3 separate regions of the Homo sapiens genome follow, and regions 2 and 3 are each linked to region 1. Evidence: promoter capture Hi-C in human tissues and cell types (Jung and others, 2019). All regions are on one chromosome and are shown on one strand. The core of a region is centred on a gene start or on the middle of the fragment in contact, and the rest is flanking DNA. Distances in the headings are between cores, read along the strand shown.

Region 1 (3,731 bases), core at 612-3,111:
TCCTCCAGCTTCATCCATGTTGTCACAAATGGCAGGATCTTCTCTTTTAAGAATGAATAATATTCCATTGTATATATACAACATTATCCGTTAATCTATCCTAGGGACAGTTAGGTTGTTTCCATATCTTAGCTATTGTGAATAATGGGGCAACAAACATGAAAGTGCAGATATCTCTATGAGGTGCTAATTTCATTTCCTTTGGGTATATACCTGAAGAGGGTTTGCTGGGTCATGTCATAGTCCTATTTTTAATTTTTTGAGGAACCTCCATACTGTTTTCCATAATGGCTGCACCAATTTACATTCCTACGAAAAGTATATGTAAATTGACTAAATTTGCCAGTCAAAATATAAATACTGCCTGGGTTATAATACACCATTATTATGGTGTAACACACCATATATTATAGTGTGATATATGACATTGTGTGACCTTGGCCAAGTTTACCTATCCTTTGTATGCCTCAGCTTCCTCATCTGTAAATAGGTCTGAAGACAGTACCTAGCTAAATGGTTGTTGTAAGGATTAACTGAGTTAAAACACACAGAGCAAATAGAGTAGCGTTTATCACATAATAAGGATTCAAATATAAGCTACTATTATGTTATCTTTGACACCCCTCGTTTCTACAGGAATAATTAAGAATCAATTATCCATCCAAGCATTTGGGAATTAATTTTAAAAAATCAATTATCCAGTTATATTTTTCAGAATTAAGATGTCTGAATATTTGAGAGGGGGCATTATCTGAAGAAATGGTTACCTCTTGGCCAATCTTATGGTACAAATACAAAGTCCATATATTCCCCTCCCCGCCTCCTTTTTTTTTTTTTTTGTTTGGTAGAGACAGGGTCTCCTTATGTTGCCCAGGCTGGTCTCTAATTCCTGGGCTCAAGTGATCCTCCCGCCTTGGCTTCCCAAAGTGCTGGGATTACAGGTGTGAGCCACCGCAACCTGGCCAATGTATTTTCCAAGCAATTACTATTCTTCACCTTGTGTGTAGAGTTTGTGAATGAAACAGATTTTTTTTTTTTTTTTTTTTTTTGAGACAGGGTCTTGCTGTGCTGTTCAGGCTGGAGTGCAGTGGTGCAATCATGGCTCACTGCAGCCTCGACCTCCCGGGCTCAAGCCATCATTCCGCCTCGCTTCCCAAGTAGATGGGACTTGCCCGGCCCGAAGCGGAACTACTGAGTTTCCTTATTTTGGAGGCAGTAATCAAATAAAAAATACCAAAACCTTAAATGATAATCAGTTTGCTACTTTATTTGGGACAAAAGAGAATTCTATATTTCATCCATCCATCACTTCACTGCTCAAAGACTTTGCCCCTTACCTATTTCTCCCTTCTTGGTCATAAATGTTAGGGCTTTATATGCAAAGCCCTGTGCTTTCTCCGATCAAGTCCAAAAGCTTGTATGAGCCACTCCTTGGATAAGAAGGGGATGGGGCCTTCTAGATGCTGTAAGTATCTCTTATATTGAACTCAGAATTGTTCTGACTGGCAGTTTATGAAGTTCTTCCCCTACTCCTCCCATCGCCAATTTTTCTTGCCCCAAACATTTATACCTCAGGGTTAAGAAGCCAGGTAAGTGAGGGGGTGTGACTCGCCCAGTCTTTCGTTGGAAAAAAGTGTAGACCTGTCAGGAAGACACAGCATAGAAAGGCTGCATGTGCTGATTTGAACTCGAGCCTCAGTAAAACATTGAAATGAATGAACACCAACCGGAAGGGAAAGAAGAGGGGAGGGGATAAGGAGCCTGAGGATTGGTTTGCCCCGCGGGATGGTCCGCGCCTGAGCCATGGGAGGCGGGGTGCCCGCCGGCAGAAGTAAACAGAGCGAGTACGCCTGCGCACGCTCTTCCTGGGTCAAGAGCCGGCTCGGTTCTGGGATTCTGAGGCTCCCCACCGCGGTCCGGCTTCTCTGGGAGACTGTCTACAAACCGACGAGAGGCGTCAACCTTTTACCCTAGGGGGCGGATTTGGGTAGGAGCCGAGCGTTCGGTCGGAAACGCCCCCTTCTTCCTCCTGGGCGGGGCAAGTGAGGCCAAGTACTGGGCCTCCAGGGCGTCGTACCTCTGTGAGACATGGCTCGCTGTGGGGAAGGCAGTGCGGCCCCCATGGTACTTCTGGGGTCCGCTGGAGTTTGCAGTAAGGGGTTGCAAAGGAAGGGGCCGTGTGAGCGGCGCCGGCTGAAGGCGACGGTGTCGGAGCAGCTCAGCCAGGATTTGCTCAGGTAGGAGGAGGCGGGAACTCTGGCTGCTTCAGTTCCTAAATCGCCCACCTCCGCCCCGAAGCTGAGGCTTCTTTCGGCTCTGCCTCCCCCTCCCTCAGCACTTGGTTCTCCTCGCCTCAGGCGACTGCGGGTCGTTAGCCAGTCTCCCCACTATTCCGAAAAGTGGCTTCGCTCGCCCTGAATAAACAATCCCGAGCACCTCGACACCATGTACCAGATTCAAAAGGAAAACAAAAAAAGCTTAGTCGTGTGCAGCACTAGTTTGCTAGAAATATCTCAACACAGGCACGCTTAGTTGTTTCCAATCACTAAGGTCGGGTGGATCCAGGTCCTGAAACTTACACAATTTTTAAAATAAGCTTATACTATTTTAAGAAAAATAATAAAATTAGGAAAACGATTATTTGAAATGAGGAAAGAACAATACTATAGTCTTGGAGGTCTCTTCTGAGGTCTCTTTAAACAATTTACCAGAAATGCTTCCTGATTGCGACCTGGATTCCTCTCTCCACCTAGAGCTCTCTGTAGCTCCCAGCAACTCTCAGCTCCTGTGAGGACCAAAGCAAATGGAGGGTCTTCCTGACATTTAACCTTTGTAAGCCTCATGGATATCCTTCTCGGGTTATTGGGAATCCAGCTAAAGTAATTTCAGCTTACAAAGAAATTGAAGCTTAGAAATATGACCTAGCTAATTTACATTTCCAGCAAGACATTGATTCTTAAACTTGGGTGGGCATCACTGAAATTTTCCATTTCTAACAAGGCCCCAAGTGATGCTAATGCTGCTGGCTAGGGTGACTATGAGAACCACTGAGGTAAACATAATTACTAATAATTAAAAGTTGTGCAGCATTCTACTTTTTTTTTTTTGGAGACGGAGTCTCGCTCTGTCGCCCAGGCTGGAGCGCCGTGGCGCGATCTCGGCTCACTGCAACCTCCACCTCCCGGGTTCAAGCCATTCTCCTGCCTCAACCTCCCGAGTAGCTGGGATTACAGGCACGCGCCACCACGCCCGGCTAATTTTTGTATTTTTAGTAGAGACGGGATTTCATCATGTTGGCCAGGCTAGTCACGAACTCGTGACCACAAGTGATCCGCCCGCCTCGGCCTCCCAAAATGCTGGGATTACAGGCGTGAGCCACTGCGCCCAGCCAGGATTCTACATTTTGAAGTGCTTTCTGTCAAAAACTCACCCATACTTAAGGCTCCGATAGCTATAAACAGAATTTATCAAAGTAAAAAAAAAATCCCTTTAATTTGGGACTATCTACTGGGGAAGCTACTTTGTCTCTACCAGGGAGGGACTGATGAAAAAGATGGAAAAAATAATACTAAAGTTGTTAACGTTTCTAGGGTAACACATCTAATTTATATGAAGAAAATGAGGTTAAAGTATTGCTAGTGAACAATTTATCCTTATCTTAGTTACAACTGAGGGTAGGACTCAGAACTCTCAAATTCTTATTATAAACAAAGAAAAATAGATGTAGCAAG
Region 2 (3,992 bases), core at 538-3,037, 1.0 Mb before region 1:
AGTAATTACTCAAGATAAAAGAAATACACATGCACACAAAGACTTGTACAAGAATTTTTATAGCAGCTTTATTGCTAACAGCCAAAAACTGGAAACAACATGAATGCCCATCAGTAGATTAATGTATAAAGCCAGCCTACCTAACAGAATAGTTGCTGTGTGATTATCTTTATATAAAACCCTAGAAAATGCAACTAATCTGCAGTGACAGACAACAAATCAGTGGTTGCCTGTTGTGGAGGAAGAAGAGGCAGGTGTGAGGGTAAGGGTTTTATATTAGGAAATGAGGAAATGTTTGGGGGTGGTATGTTTATTTTCTTGAATGTGGTGATGGATTCATTGGTGTAGATATATGTCAAAACTTATGAAATTGTACACTTTAAATATGTACTGTTTATTGTTACAATATACAATAGTTTGAATAAAATTCTTTAAAGTGTTTTTAAAGAGAGAGCATGGAAGGAGAGAGTTTCTTGTAGTGGTTGAATATGAAGGGTATTCAGAGTACACTTGGACAGAGACAGATAACACTCCTATTTGACATATTTCAACATGGGGTATCAGGCAGATGAAAGATTTCTTTGCTCAAATGCTGTCTATTTTGTTGGTAAGATTGGCAGCAAAGCTTTCTGCACAAATGACCTAAAATAGGTTGGCAGAAGTCTTGAAGAAGGTGGAGTAGGTTTGAAACAGCTGCTGGAGAACCCAGACCCAGAACTCTTGGCATTTGAATAGAGCTGGAGGTTCTGTTGATATTGGGGACCAAGAATCTATGGTAACACTACTTCCATATCATTATGTAATTTTCTATAGCACATGTCAATAGTACAGGCAAAGAGACACAGTCCTGTTTTTCCTCTGAACACATTTCATCTCCCAGAAGTTTCTTTAATCTCCCAGAAGTTTCTTTAATCTCTTGAGCACTCAGATTTCTATGGCATCTGCTCCACCACTTTGTCAGACATGCCAAGATATTTTTCATCCATTCATTCAACAGCTATCTATTGAGGCCCTTTAACTCAGCTGTGAGGCGTCAGGTGGTACTGAATATACAATAGTCCAAATATACATGATCCATGCTTTGAGGCTTACATGTCTGAATATGCAACGTACTCCCACAGGATCTAACACTGATCACTTGCAGACCTCAGAGGACTGTGCATTTCCCAAGCATAGGTCTCCCCGGGACTCATATCAGCCACACATCACTTGACCATTAATAATCAAGGTGGCCTCATTGCAAGTGCCCATTTTCAAGCTTGACCCATCTCAGGTTCCTCCTTTTTATTGTGGATATATATATACACACATATAATTTTTCTTTTCCAAGACAGAGTCTTGCTCTGTTGCCCAGGCTGGAGTGCAGTGGTGTGATCTTGGCTCACTGCAACCTCTGCCTCCCGAGTTCAAGCAATTCTCCTTACTCAGCCTCCCGAGTAGCTGGGACTGCAGCCACGTGCCACCACGCACGGCTAGTTTTTGTATTGTTGTAGAGACGGGGTTTCACCATTTTGGCCAGGCTGGTCTCGAACTCCTGACCTCATCAGCTGCCCATCTCAGCCTCCCAAAATGCTAGGATTACAGGCTTGAGCCACCGCACCCCGCCTACTGTGGATATTAAAAGTTGGGAGAGGTGTGTGGCCAACACTGAATTTGTAGGATCTATAACTAGAGACCTGAGGGCCCAAGGAAATGTTCACAGCTATCTAGTATGCTGTCAGATAACAGGTTTAGGTATTTTCTTTCTTTGAAATTCAATAAATTTTCACAATGACTTTTCATTAAAGATGAATGCTAAATTGCTATCTCACCCACAGTTTGGATAACAGATTATTAGAAAATCTGTACATATTAAGTAATGTATCACTGTTGCATCAAATGGAAGTGTATCTCTTTATCCTCTTTAAAGAGAGATATCAGATACATAATACTCAAATATCTGCAGTTGTGTGTTTACACACACACACACACACACCAGGCAGGGGAAGAGAGAATGTAAAGATAGTAATCACATTTGCTTTGAGGGGAGATAGAAAAGTAAAACTTTCTTTCTACCATTACATCAGTTTTGAGTATACTAGGAAATCCCATATGAAATTATAATTCTAGGATAGAATATTCTGTCTTTTAGGGCACCACCAGAAGAGAATACTAAACAGTAATAAAGAGGAAAAGATAGACATACACATGTTCTTTTCTCTTCTGCTGTTGTTAGCCTAAAAAAATTTAAAATGTGCACGAATGCATAAGGGATATTTATTTTAGTGAAAAGGCGAAAATACCAAATGCCTAAAGGTTGGGAATAGAAATTGATGAGTTTGGCAGTAGGCTTTGGAAATGAGCAGTGATAGCCAATCTGACTAATATGAAAAAAATGTTGCAAAGAAGCACTAGAAACAGAAAAAGCAACAACTTTTTGCATTGTGCATAAAAACGAAATGGTCTTGTAATAGCCCCGGTAGAAGTTTTCTTGTGACAACGAGACTTTCCTAAAAAGGAACAAAATGGAATAAGGAGCATCTGCCTGCAATATCCCTAAAGAGACAAAGTGTTAATCTCTCTATCCCTATAAAGATAGTGAATTTTTTTGTTTGTTTGAGGTGGAGTCTCTCTCTGTCACCCAGGCTGGAGTGCAGTAGTGCAATCTCAGCTCACTGCATCCTCCACCTCCTGTGTTCAAGCAACTCTTCTGCCTCCACCTCCCAAGTAGCTAGGATTACAAGCACCCACCATCAGGCCTGGCTAATTTTTGTATTTTTAGTAGAGACAAGGTTTCACCATGTTGGCCAAGCTTGTCTCGAACTCCTGGCCTCAAGTGGTCCACCCACCTTAGCCTCCCAAAGTGCTGGGATTACAGGTGTGAGCCACCACACCTGGCCAAAAATAGTGAATTTTTTTTTTTGAGACGGAGTTTCGCTCTGCTGTTGCCAGGATGGAGTGCAGTGGTGTGATCTCAGCTCACTGCAACCTCCACCTCCCGGGTTTAAGCGATTCTCCTGCCTCAGCCTCCCGAGTAGCTGGGACTACAGGCACGCACCACCACATCCAGCTAATTTTTGTATTTTTAGTAGAGACGGGGTTTCACCATGTTGGCCAGGATGGTCTGGATCTCTTGACCTCATGATCTGTCGGCCTTGGCCTCCCAAAGTGCTGGGATTAAAGGTGTGAGCCACCGCTCCTGGCCGTGACTTTTTAATAGGAAAAGAAATCGTGTGCCAGATACTTCCCTAAACGAGGTCAATGCACAGATTCTCTATATAGCCATCATAAGTAATCTGGCCAGAAATCCCAGGATAATCATCATCCCTAATTAAATGTAAAGCATACATGGAGCCAAATATCAGTATCGTGCCTGCAAGTATACTTGCCAGGATGAATAGTTGAAATAGTAACAGAAAATAAGAGCAGATTCATGAATCAGCCTCTTAAAAGTGAAGAAGGCGGCAGGGCACGGTGGCTCACGCCTGTAATCCCAGCACTTTGGGAGGCCGAGGCAGGCGGATCACGAGATCAGGAGATCCAGACCACGGTGAAACCCCGTCTCTACTAAAAATACGAAAAAAATTAGCCGTGCACGGTGGCGGGCGCCTGTAGTCCCAGCTACTCGGGAGGCTGAGGCAGGAGAATGGCGTGAACCCGGGAGGCGGAGCTTGCAGTGAACCGAGATCGCGCCACTGCACTCCAGTCTGGGGCGACAGAGGGAGACGCCGTCTCAAAAAAAAAAAAAAAAAAAAAAAAAAAAAAAAAAAAAAGTGAAGAAGGTTTGACGCTGGAATTCTTAATTTCCCCTAGTTTTCGGAAGCTTAACTATTGAGATAAGGAATTGTTAGGCTTATTACTATTATAAGTGTGCTCTCAGTACTTTTTATTTAGATAAATAATTGGAGAATACTTACATAAATAACCCTTAAGACAGACTGCTTTGTGAGTTATCTGTGGTGACTTGTGAAGAATTTCCCCTCTTCCCAAAGGTAACCTACTCTGCCTCCCCT
Region 3 (4,085 bases), core at 226-2,725, 1.1 Mb before region 1:
TAAATCTAAAAACCTTTTCTCAATTCTCATCCTTCTTTATCAATCTCCATCATATTGTTAATCACAGAACATCAATATTCCCTAAATGAAACACTTTCCCTTTTGAAGATCGACTAGGCTTTGTTAGGATGTTTTTTCCAGCATTTTCTGTAGTGTCATATTAATTCTCTCTAAATATTAATTCAATATTTATCTTTTTTCTTTTGTTTTTTGGAGACTGAGTCTCACTCTGTCGCCCAGGTGGGGATGCAGTGGCATGATCTTGGCTTACTGCAACCTCCGCCTCTCATGTTTAAGCAATTCTCCCGCCTCAGCCTCCCAAGTAGGTGGCATTATAGGTGCACACCACCATGCCCAGCTAATTTTTGTATTTTCAGTAGAGACGGGATATTTCATCATATTGGCCAAGCTGGTCTCAAACTCCTGACCTCAGGCGATCTGCCGACCTCAGCCTCCCATAGTGCTGGGACTACAGGCATGAGCCAATGCACCCAGTTAATTCAGTATTTATCAAGTGCTCATGTATGAGACACGAATTAGGCACCCTCCAATATATATTTCCAATCTCTCTCTCACACACACACACACACACACACACACACACATACACACACACACACACATATACACACCCAAACCAAATTCCCTAAACTGGATTCAAGCCACTCTATTACCTGGTATCAAACTGTATTTGCTGTTTTAATTCCTATCACTTCTTTATGGGAATATTCTTCTCAAGCATTTTCTGTTCTCAGCTATCCTTTACGGTTCAGTTCAATTTCTATGTTATTCTTTCCCTATACCCCATAGGACTTACTATCTGTAATTGCACTGTCCAATACAGTAACTTCATGTGGCTACTGAATACCTGAACTCTGGCTAGTCTGAATTGAGATGTGCTTTAAGTATGTAATACTAACAGATTTTGAAGACTTAACATGGTTAAAAAAAGAAAAAATGTAAAATAGTTCAATCATGTTTATATGATGAAATAATAGTATTTAGATACTGGGTTAAATAAAAATCCATTAATAAAATTTCACCTATTTATTTTATTTTTTGATGTGGCTATAGAAAATCTAAAATTGCATTTGTGGCTCAACTTATATTTCTATTGGGCAGTGCTGACCTATACAATCTATTTATAAATGCCCACAAATTACCTTTTTCTTCTTCTTCTTCTTAAACTGATAAATACAAATTGTATATATTTATGGTGTACAACACATTTTGAAATACATATAAATTATGCAATGGTTAAATCTAGCTAATTAACACATGCATTACCTCACATAGTTATATTTTGTGGTGTGAACACTTAAAATGTACTCTCCTAGCAACTTTCAAGTATGCAATATTAACTATAGTTACTATGCCCCACAAATTATCTCTTAACATATAATGTCATCTTCCCGATGAGTGCCAGAATTCAACATTAAGCTTTTTTCTTTTATGAATTAAATATTATATTAGGAATTACTAATAGTAATTAAGTGCCATTTAATTTTAATATCCCTTTAAGATTTTTAACAAGGAAGTGTAAGGCATTTCAAAGTGTTCAAATATTAAAAAAAAGTTGTTTTCAGATAGCTATAAATTATACAATTTTTCATCTATATTTTACTTATATACAATTCTAAGTCAAATGTCCCACCAGCAAGGATAGATAGCATGATTAAACCTGTAGCAATCCAAATCCCATAAAGTATTAGTTCTGATTAAGCCTGATTTTTTTCATCTTAGTCACTCAGTAAAGGGCAGCATCCATTTTGGTCAACATCATTGTACCAATGTCCAGCAGCCAAGACAAAGAGCCTTTATATGGTGGTATGAATAGACAATGAGAGCAATACGACACCACTTGAAATAAGGGGGGGGAGAAAAATGTTTTTATAATGCTAAGTTTTAAAACTAGGAGATGAAACTTACAAATTGTGTAACAACTAGGTAAAAGGATATATATGTAAGAAGAACAGGAAGGTAGAACAGAAAGGTCTCCTCTCTAGACCTTCTCAAGATATACCTAGGTTCAAACTTGGCTACTCCATTATTAAGTGGATGTGTTTCCTCACATGTAAAGTGGGAATATATACATCACAGGATTATTAAAAGAATATAGTAGATGCTTAATTAACGTCATCTGTCTTTAATACTAATAATTATATAATGGTAATAAGATTATGGGTGACTTCCCCTCCCTCACTTTCCAAATTGCTGTATTTTTCAAGCATAAATGAAAAACTTACAATTTCATACTAGTACCCCTCCTCAAATGAACCTAAAATTATTTTTACTAGCTGTCTTTGACAAATTTGCTTATAAGCTTAAAATCCGTGTTTGTGCTAGGAGGAGGTTGGTGGTAGAAAGAAAATTAAAGAGGGGGAACTGATAACTTTAACACCATACCAGCACAGACATATACAAAACAAAGTGTGGAGAGGAAAAGAGCAAAAGGAAATGCTGTTTGGGAAATTCCCAACTCAGACTATCCAATGAAAAGATTATATTCCACCCGCCTCAATCTAGCTACCTACCAGCCACTCCTCACTCTCATCTTGGGTTTATACGTACATTACAAATACGCATAGCCACTCACCTTCTTCTCTCTACTAATAGTCACCACATGGCCTCACAGTCAAAAATTGAAAGGAGAGTGAAGAAATTCAGCATGTTATAACAAAGACAAACCAATGCACTGGCTGGGAAATAACTTCATTAAAATGTACTCATTCCCAAGTGTATCTACTCATCTGCTGACAGTGCTGGGAATGCATTCCTGAAATATTTAACCTGGTTATAAGATTCTGCTGCTAGAATCAGAGAAGGCACACTTTGATGCCTACCTCTCACTTCCTCTATAACAACCTTGTCTTTATCGGCATGGCTTAAAATGGGACATTAGCAAAAGTATACAACTGCAAATCACTCACAGGTGAAAATCTCAAGTTAATGTAGAAAGAATAATTAAACAATGGTAATAATAACTATTATTACTCTAACAGGTAACACTTACTTTACTCAGCATTGTATGCCAGAAAGCTAAGGACTTTACATGAATTATGTAATATCAACCCTAAACCTCTTTGAAGATGGTAATTACTAATTCCACTTGCCTAGTGCTCACACAGCTAAATCTGAACCCTGTCAATTTTACTTCAAGGCTTACACTTTCAAACTTTATCATATCCTGCCTCTTTATATATGCATAATTACAATTGCAATTGTGATTCTATGTGTGTGTGTGTCTGTGTGTAAAGTATTTAGTGAGTCAGTAGCAAACAAAAGGCAATTAATTCCAACTCTGTGAAGCCTTTTACCCACCTTCACAAACCAACAATAAATTGGGAATTACCCCTCTCCTCCCCAATAAATGGTGCTCTGAAAGTACTAGTTTTACAGTCATACATCACTTAAGCATGGATGTACATTCTGAGAGATGCATTCTTAGGCAATTTGGTCACTGTGCAAACATCACAAAGTGTACTCAAACAAACCTAGATGGTAGAGCCTACTTACACACCTAGGCTACTTGGTATAGCCTATTGTTCCTAGGCTACAACATGCTCCTGTAAAGCATGTTATTGTACTGAATACCACACACAACTGTAACATAACTGTTTAGTATTTGTGTATCTAAACATAGAACATAAAATACAGTAAAAATACAGTATTACAATCTTATGGGACCACCATCGTAAATGCAGTCCACTATTGACCAAAGAACATCATTATGCTGCACATGACTGTATTTAATATCTTCCTCAAGAAACTAATGAAAGAGATACTTTTAAGTAAAATATTAATCTTTTCAAAAAATTAGATAAAATAATTGATAGACTACAGGTAAACATGCTTTGTAAAGTGTAAAGAATTTTAATCAACACTTTATTAGGTATTTTTAATTTTCAGTTGTCTATTTGGCTCAAAATATACTTACGTTTCTAGAGTTTGAACAAAGTCTTTTTTATTTGAGACAGGGTCTCACTCTGTCACCCAGGCTAGAGTGCAGTGGCACGGCATCTCTGCTCACTGAAGCCTCTGCCTCCTGGGTTCAAGTGATTCTCCTGCCTCGGCCTCCCAAGTAG

Evidence for each region. Contacts are between HindIII fragments. The study calls those that stand out against the background at their distance.
Region 2: a fragment that was not itself captured here is called in contact with the fragment with the promoter of BTBD8 in region 1 in 1 of the 25 tissues and cell types used here (hippocampus).
Region 3: a contact is called between a fragment that was not itself captured here and the fragment with the promoter of BTBD8 in region 1, in 1 of the 25 tissues and cell types used here (hippocampus).

Annotation. Positions count from the first base shown.
Region 1 is chr1:92,078,484-92,082,214 of GRCh38, forward strand. BTBD8 (BTB domain containing 8) reads left to right here and starts at 1,862. Exons shown (of 18, transcript NM_001376131.1): 1 at 1,862-2,237. The coding sequence starts at 2,089. RefSeq lists an enhancer at 3,135-3,731. The HindIII fragment of the contact is 3,183 bases long and covers 1-2,751 here.
Region 2 is chr1:91,032,527-91,036,518 of GRCh38, forward strand. No RefSeq gene overlaps it. Among named protein-coding and RNA genes, the nearest start is that of ZNF644, 12 kb to the left of the region's middle. The HindIII fragment of the contact is 3,018 bases long and covers 279-3,296 here.
Region 3 is chr1:91,012,879-91,016,963 of GRCh38, forward strand. All of the region lies in intron 1 of ZNF644 (zinc finger protein 644), which reads right to left. Among named protein-coding and RNA genes, the nearest start is that of ZNF644, 7.1 kb to the right of the region's middle. The HindIII fragment of the contact is 3,761 bases long and covers 1-3,356 here.